Regions from separate parts of the Homo sapiens genome. Here region 1 is linked to region 2. Evidence: promoter capture Hi-C in 16 types of primary human blood cells and fetal thymus (Javierre and others, 2016). All regions are on one chromosome and are shown on one strand. Each heading gives the region's core, a stretch centred on a gene start or on the middle of the fragment in contact. The rest is flanking DNA. Distances are from core to core; before and after follow the strand shown.

Evidence for each region. Contacts are between HindIII fragments. The CHiCAGO score rates a contact against its expected background, and 5 or more counts as called.
Region 1: a fragment that was not itself captured here is called in contact with the fragment with the promoter of CMC1 in region 2 in 1 of 17 cell types (M2 macrophages); the score reaches 5.2 in M2 macrophages.

What each region holds. Positions count from the first base shown.
Region 1 is chr3:27,972,179-27,977,326 of GRCh38, reverse strand. No RefSeq gene overlaps it. Among named protein-coding and RNA genes, the nearest start is that of LINC01967, 54 kb to the left of the region's middle. The HindIII fragment of the contact is 3,241 bases long and covers 876-4,116 here.
Region 2 is chr3:28,238,222-28,243,095 of GRCh38, reverse strand. It overlaps CMC1 (C-X9-C motif containing 1), which reads right to left and starts at 1,477. Exons shown (of 4, transcript NM_182523.2): 1 at 1,284-1,477. The coding sequence starts at 1,302. RefSeq lists a silencer at 1,185-1,264. The HindIII fragment of the contact is 9,835 bases long and covers 1-4,874 here.

The DNA of each region.
Region 1 (5,148 bases), core at 1,247-3,746, 270 kb after region 2:
GCAGCCAGACCCAACCAAATATTAAAAGATAGGCCTAAAGCAAGGTGTTTCATATAAATATACCCACAAACCTTCTGAGTAGATCCTAACATTATCCCCATTTTACAGCTAGATTGGGAAATTTAGGCTTATTACTGATATATTGTGCAAGATCTAGTAAGTCAGGAACCAGCATGCTGACTCATATCCACGTGATTTTGAAACGTGATTGACTTCCCCATTTGCTACAATGGGTGAGCACTGTAAAGGAACTAGAGTTTTCTCTCTGTAGTCTTAGTCACTGTGTTATGAAGAGATGGACATCATAGTAATACTTATTTCTGATGCAATTAAATGCCTCTAGTTCTTAAAAGGAAGACAAGGAAAATGCTATTCTTATAATCTTCCTCCATGAAAATATTCCTTTAAAGCCTGCATCCTCGCTTTTTGCCCCTTTCCCATAGGGACTCATCTTCTCTTACCTCCTCCAGTAATGAGCTATTTCCACAAATCTTCATGGTTGTTTGCTAATGCAGCAGTACTGTCACAATAGTTAACTTATACAGTGGGCCACCAGCAGTCTCTGCCACAACATCAAACAAAAGTCCAGTTTTTGACAAGAACCCAGTACTGTCTGCCACCATGAGGTAACTAAAGATTGACAGCCCAGGTTTCTCAGCTGAAAGTGTTGAATTTATGCTAGGGGCATCTTGTTGCCTAAAGAAACGTACTCATCCTGGGAGACAGTTTTCTTTATTTTGAAGGTTGGGAATATCCCAGAAGGAGCCTTTAGTAAGAAGATGGATAAATATTCATTGATACAACAAATATTAATTGAGTGCCTCTATGTTCGAGGTACTGTCTGCATTTATTAAGCTCTGTATAGGTGCCAAGCTTTATGTTAAGTGCTTTATATGCACCTCATTTAGTCTTCTAAAGTGTCAGTTATGTAATTTTGCATATCTTTTAAAGTTTGCCACATACCACATCTTACATTACTCTGCATAAATCTTATATGTCTGTTGGAATATGGCAGGTTCAAGAGTCTTCAGGTATACATGGAACCAAAGAGAGACCCCAGCTTGTTTTCGAAGGTTCATTCTTTACCTGTATAAAAGCTGTGCAATGTAGAGTAAAGAATATGTTTTCTCAGTCATGGGATCTAGGTTCTGATCTGAGTTCTGCTACTACCAAGCTGTTGAATATTAACCAAATTAATGAATCTTCTTGTGTCTCAGTTTCCTCATTTGTAAAACAATTCCATGAACTAAATATTTTTTTAAACCTTCTCTATTTTGAAACTGTATACATCACCATCTGATTATCTGTAGTAAGGTAATTTAATGAGAAAGTCGAGAGCAGATTTTGAAACTTAAAGCCAAATTTCTGACAATCCAAAGAATCATTGGCTGAAAGCTGAATCTGTCTCTTCCTGGGTCTTGCTTTCCAGTTGGACCTATCGAAGCATATGTCACATTGTAGGGATCTAGGCAGCCATAACAGATGTGAGTTTAATTTTTTTCCGCCAAGTACTGACATATACCTAAGCAGATGTTAGGGTTGAGTTTCTTTTGTTTTTGTTTTTGTTTGTTTGGTTGGTTGGTTGGTTTTTAGCCTCTTGGCTTCCAGTTCTTGTGATGCATTTGTTTATTTGGAGGCACACTGAATTATTTTTCAAACTGGGAAAAACCCTCCTGACAAAAACTATTTTTTAAGTGTCAGAACATTTTCAACTCCAGCCTTCTTTAATCCAACTGAAAAATATGCAAAGAAAAAGAGTAGGTGGTTTCAAGTAAAAGAAGAAAACATAATTGAGAATTTCCTTGCAGGTCCACAAAGGATTTTATTTTGTCTCTACCCTGTACAGCAAGAAAATAAATGCCAGGACGTTTGTAAAGCTGTGATATTATAGGGCTGTTAGTGAAAAACCAAAAAGGATTGAGGGAGTGGGGAGGTGGAGGTTGTCTCTTTGATTGCTAGGGAAATTATGTAGACTTAGTTTCAATTGCTTGAAAATTCCACATCAGGGAATTTGAGGTTGCCTATTGTGGCCAGCTGGCATATAGAGGTCAAGATTGTTTCCTTTCTGTGCTTATATGACAAAGGCATAGCATGATTTTATTGGTGGTACTAATCTAACTGGCACTCAGATACTAAGTTTCTTAAGCACTTGGTAGTATTGAATTGTGTGATCTAGGGTCAGAGGGTAGTGCTAGAGAGAATTATTTGGGGGAAGAGTTGCCCAAAATACTGTAATACTGGCGGAGGTAAGCATCCCTAAGGACCTGTGCAGAAAATCTCTCTGAATACATACAGAAGACATTCATAAATGGAAACAAATACTCAAGAAAAGATAGAAAATCAAGTAGACTACTAATCCAGAGAGGAAATGAAAAGTTTGTCAAAGATCTGTAATAAGATTCCAGGCTCAGAGTATAACTAACTCTCCAAAAACAGGCAGTTTTGTGTTATTCAGACTACAAAATCAATGCAATGTTCACATCAGAATAAAAAAAAAAAGATAGCACTAAAAGAAAAGTGCTAGTGATTTATCCCTTACTAATATACAAACAAAAATTTCTAAGCAAAATGTCAGTGCAGTAAAATCAAATGCAGTAAAACAATTTTTAAAATACACCATTTTCAAGGATGATTCAATATTTAAAAAACCTATTAGCACATTTTTATTTCCTTGGTAGATTAAATGAAGAAAAAACTATTGCATAAAGTGATGCAACAAAAATATTAGAATATCTAGGAAACTTTAAAATTGTACTGAGGGGCATGAAATAATGTCTGAAAAAATGGAGAGATATGCCGTATTATCTAATGGAAATAATAAATATGTAAATTTCAGATAATTCACTACAAAAGCAATTGTTTTAGATGTGTATTTAATTTTAACTTGACAAATTGATATTAAACCTGGGAAAATACATGAAAATAGCCAAGATAATTTGGAAAATGTATCATAATTAGGAGATTAGCATTAACAGAGTAATTATAGGAGTAGAATAAGTAGAGATTTAATATTCATAGGGACAGGAGGCAGAAAAATTCTAGGCAGAAAAGGGAGGGGTTCATGGTGAAGCCCCACTCTCAAGCTGAAAAGCCTGAAACTGCAGCCCAAAATCCCTGTTTTGCCACTCAAATGTTGCCTTTTCCTAAACCACCCATGGCCCCACCCCACCTCATCCTCTGCCTATAAAGACCCTAGACTCAGTCAGCAGAGAGGAACAAGCAGCTGGATGTCAGGACAACTATGGCTGGACACTGGAGACAAGTGGCTTGACTTCAGAGGGACAGCTTGAGGGTGTAACTTCAGAGAAGAATCCAGCCATCTCTGGCCAGACTTCTGAACAAGATTACCTACCTACCTGTCCCCTTTTCAGCTCCCCTTCCCACTGACAGCTACTTTCACTGGCAATAAAATCCCCTGCATTTACCATCCTTCAATTGGTTCATGCAACCTCATTTTTCCTTGACAATAGACAAGAGCTCAGGAGCGAGTGCAGATAAAAAAGGGCCCACTGACCTGTTGACACTTAAACTATATGTGGACAGCAGAACTAAAAGGGTACTGTAACATGCCCACTGGGGCTTCAGGAGTCACAGGTACCCCCACAGATGCTGTCGTGGGGCCTGCACAGAGTTTGCTCCTGCTGGTGCCCAAAAGTCTCACCCCAGCTCCTGCACCTGCTCACCTGCACACTCCCTCCTGTGAGGAGTGGAATAGAGCAGGTCCAAGTTAGTGGAGTTTGCTCCTGTTGACACTGAAGCAGCTAACTTGTTCTAGCGCTGGTGTACTCCAGTTCCCGCCTCGTTTGCCCACTCACTCCCTCCAGCAAGGAGTTGAGAGTGACAGGCTGAGTAAACATGGCACCCCTGTCAAGAGTCCCGCGAAGGGGTCAGGGAAATATCCTGTTTCAATATGTGCTAAAGTAGTATTTTAAATCCCAAGGAAAATGGATTGAGGCAAATTCTGTTAAAGCAATTGGATGTTTATATATAAGAAAATAGTTAGATGTTACCTTGTATTACATACAAAAATAAATTTCATCTGAATTAGAGATCTAAATGTAAAAATAAAAAAATAAAAGCATGAAAACTAAAGGTATGGAAGATAGTTTCTAAGCTTGGGGGTGGGAAAGCTTAAAATTCAAACTCCCAATACAAAAATTTAATAACTGTATAAATATTTTTTAAAATTTTAAAGCAAAGAATACATAAAAATAAAAGTGACTAGGAGAAAACACAATATATTACAAATAAATGGTTAATATTCAAAATACAAAATTACTTTAAATAAATTAATATGAAAAGGTCAATGTAATAGAAAATTAAGCAATGGATCTAAACAGGCAGTTCACACAAAATAAACACAAATGGCCAATAAACATAGAAGAGATGGAAAAGCTTGGCAATAACTAAGGACATGCAAATTTAAAAGACTAAGAAGCCATTTTGCTTATCAGTGACAAAAATTTAAATAGCTTGCTAAGAACCAATGCTGGAAAAAAATTTTGGGAAAGAAGAAACTCCTGTTTGCTAAGGACTTACAGGTGTACTGTTTTGAAGAAAATGTTGGCAGCAGCAAATCTAATTTTAGGAATCCATCCTAAAGTATTGCAAGTACATAAAGTTCTACAAACATGCTCACTGCAGCATGTTAAAAGGCCCATCAAGGTTGGGCATGGTGGTTAAACCTGTAATCCCAGCTACTCAGAAGGCTGAGGTGGGAGGATCGCTTGACTCCCAGGAGTTCAAGGCCAGCTTTGGACAACATGATAAGATCCTGCCAAAAAAAAAAAAAAAAAAAAAAAAAAAGCCCATCTATAACAGAATGTCTGAGAATGTCTAAATAATGGTACACTAATATGATGGAACGACACGAGTACAAAATAATGTAGGAGATCGACATTTATGGAAACAGCCAGGAACAAAAAAAGTTGTAGGATATATGTATAGTACGATTCCATTATTGTTTATAGGTTTTAATGGATGGAGTTGGTGATCTTTATTTTCATTTTGTTATTTTTAATTCTTCATTTTAGATTTGAGCTGCTTCTTAAGTTTTGCCTCCACTCTGCAGCTTCTACAGATCTTTAAGCTCTTGAGCTCAGGAGCAAGGCTAAAATTCAGGAGCTACACAAACCATCCTCACCCAGA
Region 2 (4,874 bases), core at 228-2,727:
CGACAGTGAGACTCCGTTTCAGTAAAATAAAAAAAAAAGATACCATAAATTATATGGGCCTAAACTTGAACCTTCCTTACTCACCCCTCACTTATACTCTACCCCTTCTACCCTCAAGAACCAAATCATGGTAGTCATCCTGAAACCAAGCATCGCACAGTGCACCTTACTATCTAAACCTTTGCTCATAGGGCTGCCTCTTCTCCAGCTCCAACCACTGGAAATTCCATCCCTCAAAGCCCAGATCAACTGCTAACTGCTTCATAACCACCTAGTCCAAAATGAATATGATCATTATGTTCCAGAACTCCTCTATGCTTCAAATTAGAGTACTCCCTGATCTACCACTACCTGCTGGACTAGTCACTTAACTTCTCTTCGCCTCAGTTTCCTAATCTGTAAAATGGAGCTAAAAGGACCTACCATACCACATATTATTGTTGGATAATAGAGAACACTTAGCATGGTAATAACATGTTCAATTAAAACATTATTTCTGTGCTACATATATTTTCCATGCTCCTTGAAGGCTCCGAAAGAGCATTTTCCATTTCTGAATCTCCCAAGTTTGACGCCATTTACCTCTCAATGTTTTGACTTTTTGTATCCATAAAATGAAAGAAATGGACTAGACCAACTACCATTCCCTCCAAAAATGTTATCTATTCCCTTGCAAAAATAGCCTAACGCAAAGATACTGCAGGTGACCTTCCACAAGGACGGGAATTCGAGGGTAAGTTAACTATTGCTGCAAACGGAAGTGGCTGGAAGCAAAGAGATTAAAACAACATTCAAGATTTTGAAGATCCTTTCCAAAGAAACTGACTCCTGCCATAGTGATGGATCCTTTGAAATATGTTTTTAAGTTGGGTTACAAGGATGAACTCGGGGTCCATGAACTCCCAAACAGAAATGTAAAACTGTGCGCCAGAACAAATATACAAATTTTTCTGGGGCCAGAGTGTCTGCAGCATACATTAAATGCATCTGTGACCTTAAGGGGCGAAAAGAGGGTGACAATGAAGAGACTAGTCGCGTTAAGTTGGAAACCACAATGGATGATACTTTAGACAACAAACGCAACCTCAGATAACCATAATCCCCAACAAGTGAGAAGATGACCTCAGACCGGGCGAAGCAGCCGCCGGGTATGAGGAGACGCTGGTGGAAGCAATGCTACCCAGAGCTCTGCACCTTTCCCAGGTCGGCATCCAGCCCGCATGGCCCGCGGCGTGAGACCCGGGGCGAGGCCCCTCGGCAAACCCCGCTTCCCGCCCCGGTACCTGCGGGGTCGAGCGCCATCTCGGCGGGCCGAGAAGAACGTAGCCGCTTGGCGGCTCCGGGGCACGCAGGAAGGGGAGTGGAGGGGAGGGGCTTGGGCTCGGACGCACGTGCGACCCCCGGGAGCTTCCCGCAACAGAAACACGGGCCCTTTGCAAAGCACCGCCAGGACCCGTTCCCTCTTCCTTCCCAGGCTCCTACTTCCGCCGCCCGTTGCGCCTGCGCCTTTCTGGCCCCGCCCCAATCCTGTAACTAGAGTGGAACTGACTTCGCAGGGGGAATGACCAGGAAAGGGGGCGTGTCTGCGTGCCTTTGGGGCGGGACCGTGCAGGACGCGCGCAGCCTCGCTTCAGGAGGCTTGTGCACCAGTTGCAGACCCGGGTCGGCCGTGACTGGAGGCGGACCTGCAGGACTTTGGGACTGTGCCTCACTCGGTGACTGGGCCAAAGTCCGAGCCCCGTCCCCCATACCCGCCTTCGGAGAACCAAATGAATCATCCAGTTCCTTTTTTTTTCTTCGTTAACGTTCATTCATTCATAAATGTCTATTTCATGCCTGCCAAGTTCCAGCCACGGTTCTGAATACGAGGGGAAAATAACAATAAAAATAACGTCCCTGTTCTCAAGGAGCAGTGTGGCAGAGGAGACAAATAAAAGCAACACGCTGTTAAATGTGATAAACGCCACACGCACTAGTTGTTCACAGCTTGTTCTACCATAAAGGTGATATGGTGTGTGCAATATCGTTATTTCTCCTTCAAATCAAAGACTGTGGCTCTCCTAGACGTTAAAATATGGGCTCTAGAAGTACCTCTATGTTGTGAAATAATATCCTCAGGACGTACAGTATGATTTGGGTGATGTTACAAATCCTGCCTCTATCAGTAAAAGCTGTATGTTTTGTGAGAGTAAAATGAAGGAAGGTAATAGCCGTCCCGCTGAAGACCCACTACTCACCTCTTCTCAATAGAAGAAACTTTCTAGGTGGCACTTAGGTTCATTTCCACTCACAAACCAGCCTTCAGAAGTGCTTCCTTGTCAAATTCACGTTTAACTGGCTCGAGCCACGAAAGGGTGAGCTGAGGCCTGGGACAGATGGGACAGATGTTTAGAAAAACAAGGAGCAGCTGCTTCTTCCCTGCAAGGGATTCAGGGCTTTCAAAATGATCCCCTCCCCACCTACCTGCAGTCCCTCCTCCCCTGCTGCTGCTTCCGCCTGGTCAGTTGGCAGAAAAGCTGAGGCAGTTGAGCAGGGCTGGGAAAGTGGGTCTCTGCTCAGCAGGTCTTCCGTTTAAGGGCCTATTTGGGCATAACGGCCCTTATTACAGCTGTAGGTTGAGGTGCCAAGGTGAAGAATTAACGTTTCACTCACCCAGCCAGGGAATCAGGTCCTTTTCCTTGTATATTTTGTAAATATGCTTAGAAATACACCAAAATGACTCTGGTATGCCTCTTTTATTGTTCTGAAGGTGAAGGATTTGATTTAGAAAGCTAAAGCAATCTTTTTGAGGAGATGGAGTATGAAAACACAGGTCAGACACCCATATTCAAGAATTAAACTAAATCTTTCTATATGCAAAAGGGTATTATGGTAAAGGAGGAAAGTTTGATCTGTTATCTTAGTGAGTTGAGTAAGTTCTATTATTTTTCTGGACTTTGGTTTCCAATTTACAAGGTTGTTCTGAGGAATAAATGTGATATCATACAATGCATTTGAAAGACTTTAAAGGACCACTTCTACCATTTCTGCCATAGCTATTACTTGAAACATTACTATTTAACATTTGTTTTTAAATCAACACATTTTTAAAAACACTTAAATAGGCACTATTTACTTTAGCCTTATCCTAAGCAACAGTATCTGTAATATCATGGGTTTTGTGTGCCCCATAGAATGAACTGCTAGACGTATCACACCAGGAGAAGCACTAGCAAAAACGGTAGCCCAATACCTGATACATAATAGTATATCTCTCTCTACTCCCATGTTAAACCAGATACTTTGGGGGGAAACTGAGTCTTTACAATCTATACCTAGGGAAGATAAGTCATTTTTTAAGTTAAGCGAATGTAATTGGCAATTAAAAACAGAAGAAATTTCCTGAGGCATCGCATTATTAATAGGCAATTCTTTGGGTAGTAACTGCAAAAGGAGCTCAAGGAAAGAGGAGAGGACATCATCCTGGAAATTAGGAACAGTGTCTTACCCAGCTGTGATCCCTAGAGCTCAGGCAACGTCTGGTAACTGGTGACCCCACAAAAGCCTTTCTCAAAGGATTGAATGCCGCAATGGTTAGGAAAGACTTCAGAGATAAGTTAGAAGTTATGCTCGGCCTTGAACGATGGGTACAATGAGTAGACAGAAAAAAGGGCATCTCATGCTGGGAGAAAAATGAGAGCAAAAGCATCTGGGATTTGAACTGTTCTTGAAAGAGCATGGTGGAGCATGGCAGAGTACAGGCTAAGGAATGGAATCACATGAACAAAAGCACAGGGGTGGGAAGCACCCAGCTGTGTGGCAGGAAGCACCACGGGGCTGTGTGGCAGGCATGTGGTGGGCAATGCTTGAAACTACTTCAATGCATTTTAGGATTTGGGAAGCTAGGGCAGTTATGCATTGGCTAGAAAAGTCCAGATTCCCACAGCCTTAAACACTAGACAGAGGTGTGTTTGAATGTGTTACTATAAGCAACCAGAATCTGTTGAAGGTTAATATATAGGAAAAGAGCATTGTGGTCAAAATTTTCTAAAGGTGTTTTATAAAAGTTTTGCGCAGGATGAATGTAGGCAGCGAGGAAAGAGCTAAAAGGCAAGCAGAAAAGTAAGGAGGCTATTGTACTGGTTTGGGCAAGATATGAAAAGAGCCTCAACTGGGATATATAAAAGGATGGATGTGAGAGTAATTGCAAAGGAAGAATCTATCCTTTGAAATTGGATTTAGAAGACTAAGACAAAGAGTCAAGATTTCTGGATAATTCCTTTTTTTGGCAAATGTATACAGACAAATGAGAAAATCATGGCAATGTGCCTATTCATGCCTGAAATGATCTGCCTTGATCCTCATTATTGGGGGCTAACAGTGGCGATAATGAAACAGAAAGATCAGTTCAGAGAAATTTGCAGTAATGCAGGGTAATAACAGTAGTTGAACCACAGTGAATTTCTCTTTGTATGTGAAGGCAAAGGAATGTGCAAGTAGAAACAAGTATCTTGATTATTTTTGAGTCAATTCTGAATTGGATCTAACATTCCTTTATGCTATATGTTGATATGCAGCTAGTTGTTTTTTGAAATTGAGATTATCAGTCAGCCCCTCCTTGCTTCTGCCTCTTCTTAGCATCAGAAGTAAAGACTTTTCATCTGCAGCTTGGCTCTGCTACAGATGAGAATAAAACTTGAAATCAATGAGATTTCAAATTTGAGTCAGTAAGAATCAAACTTGAAAGAATATTAGACGCCTCATCTCTACCAGAGGATAGGATTTAGAAGTAGTTCTCGGCCAGAAGATCACTAATCAAGGGTCCCTGGTGGCCCTGCCTACTTTCTGAGCTGTATTATTTAGCACCCAGTTTGCATGGCTTGTGCCTTCTCTGG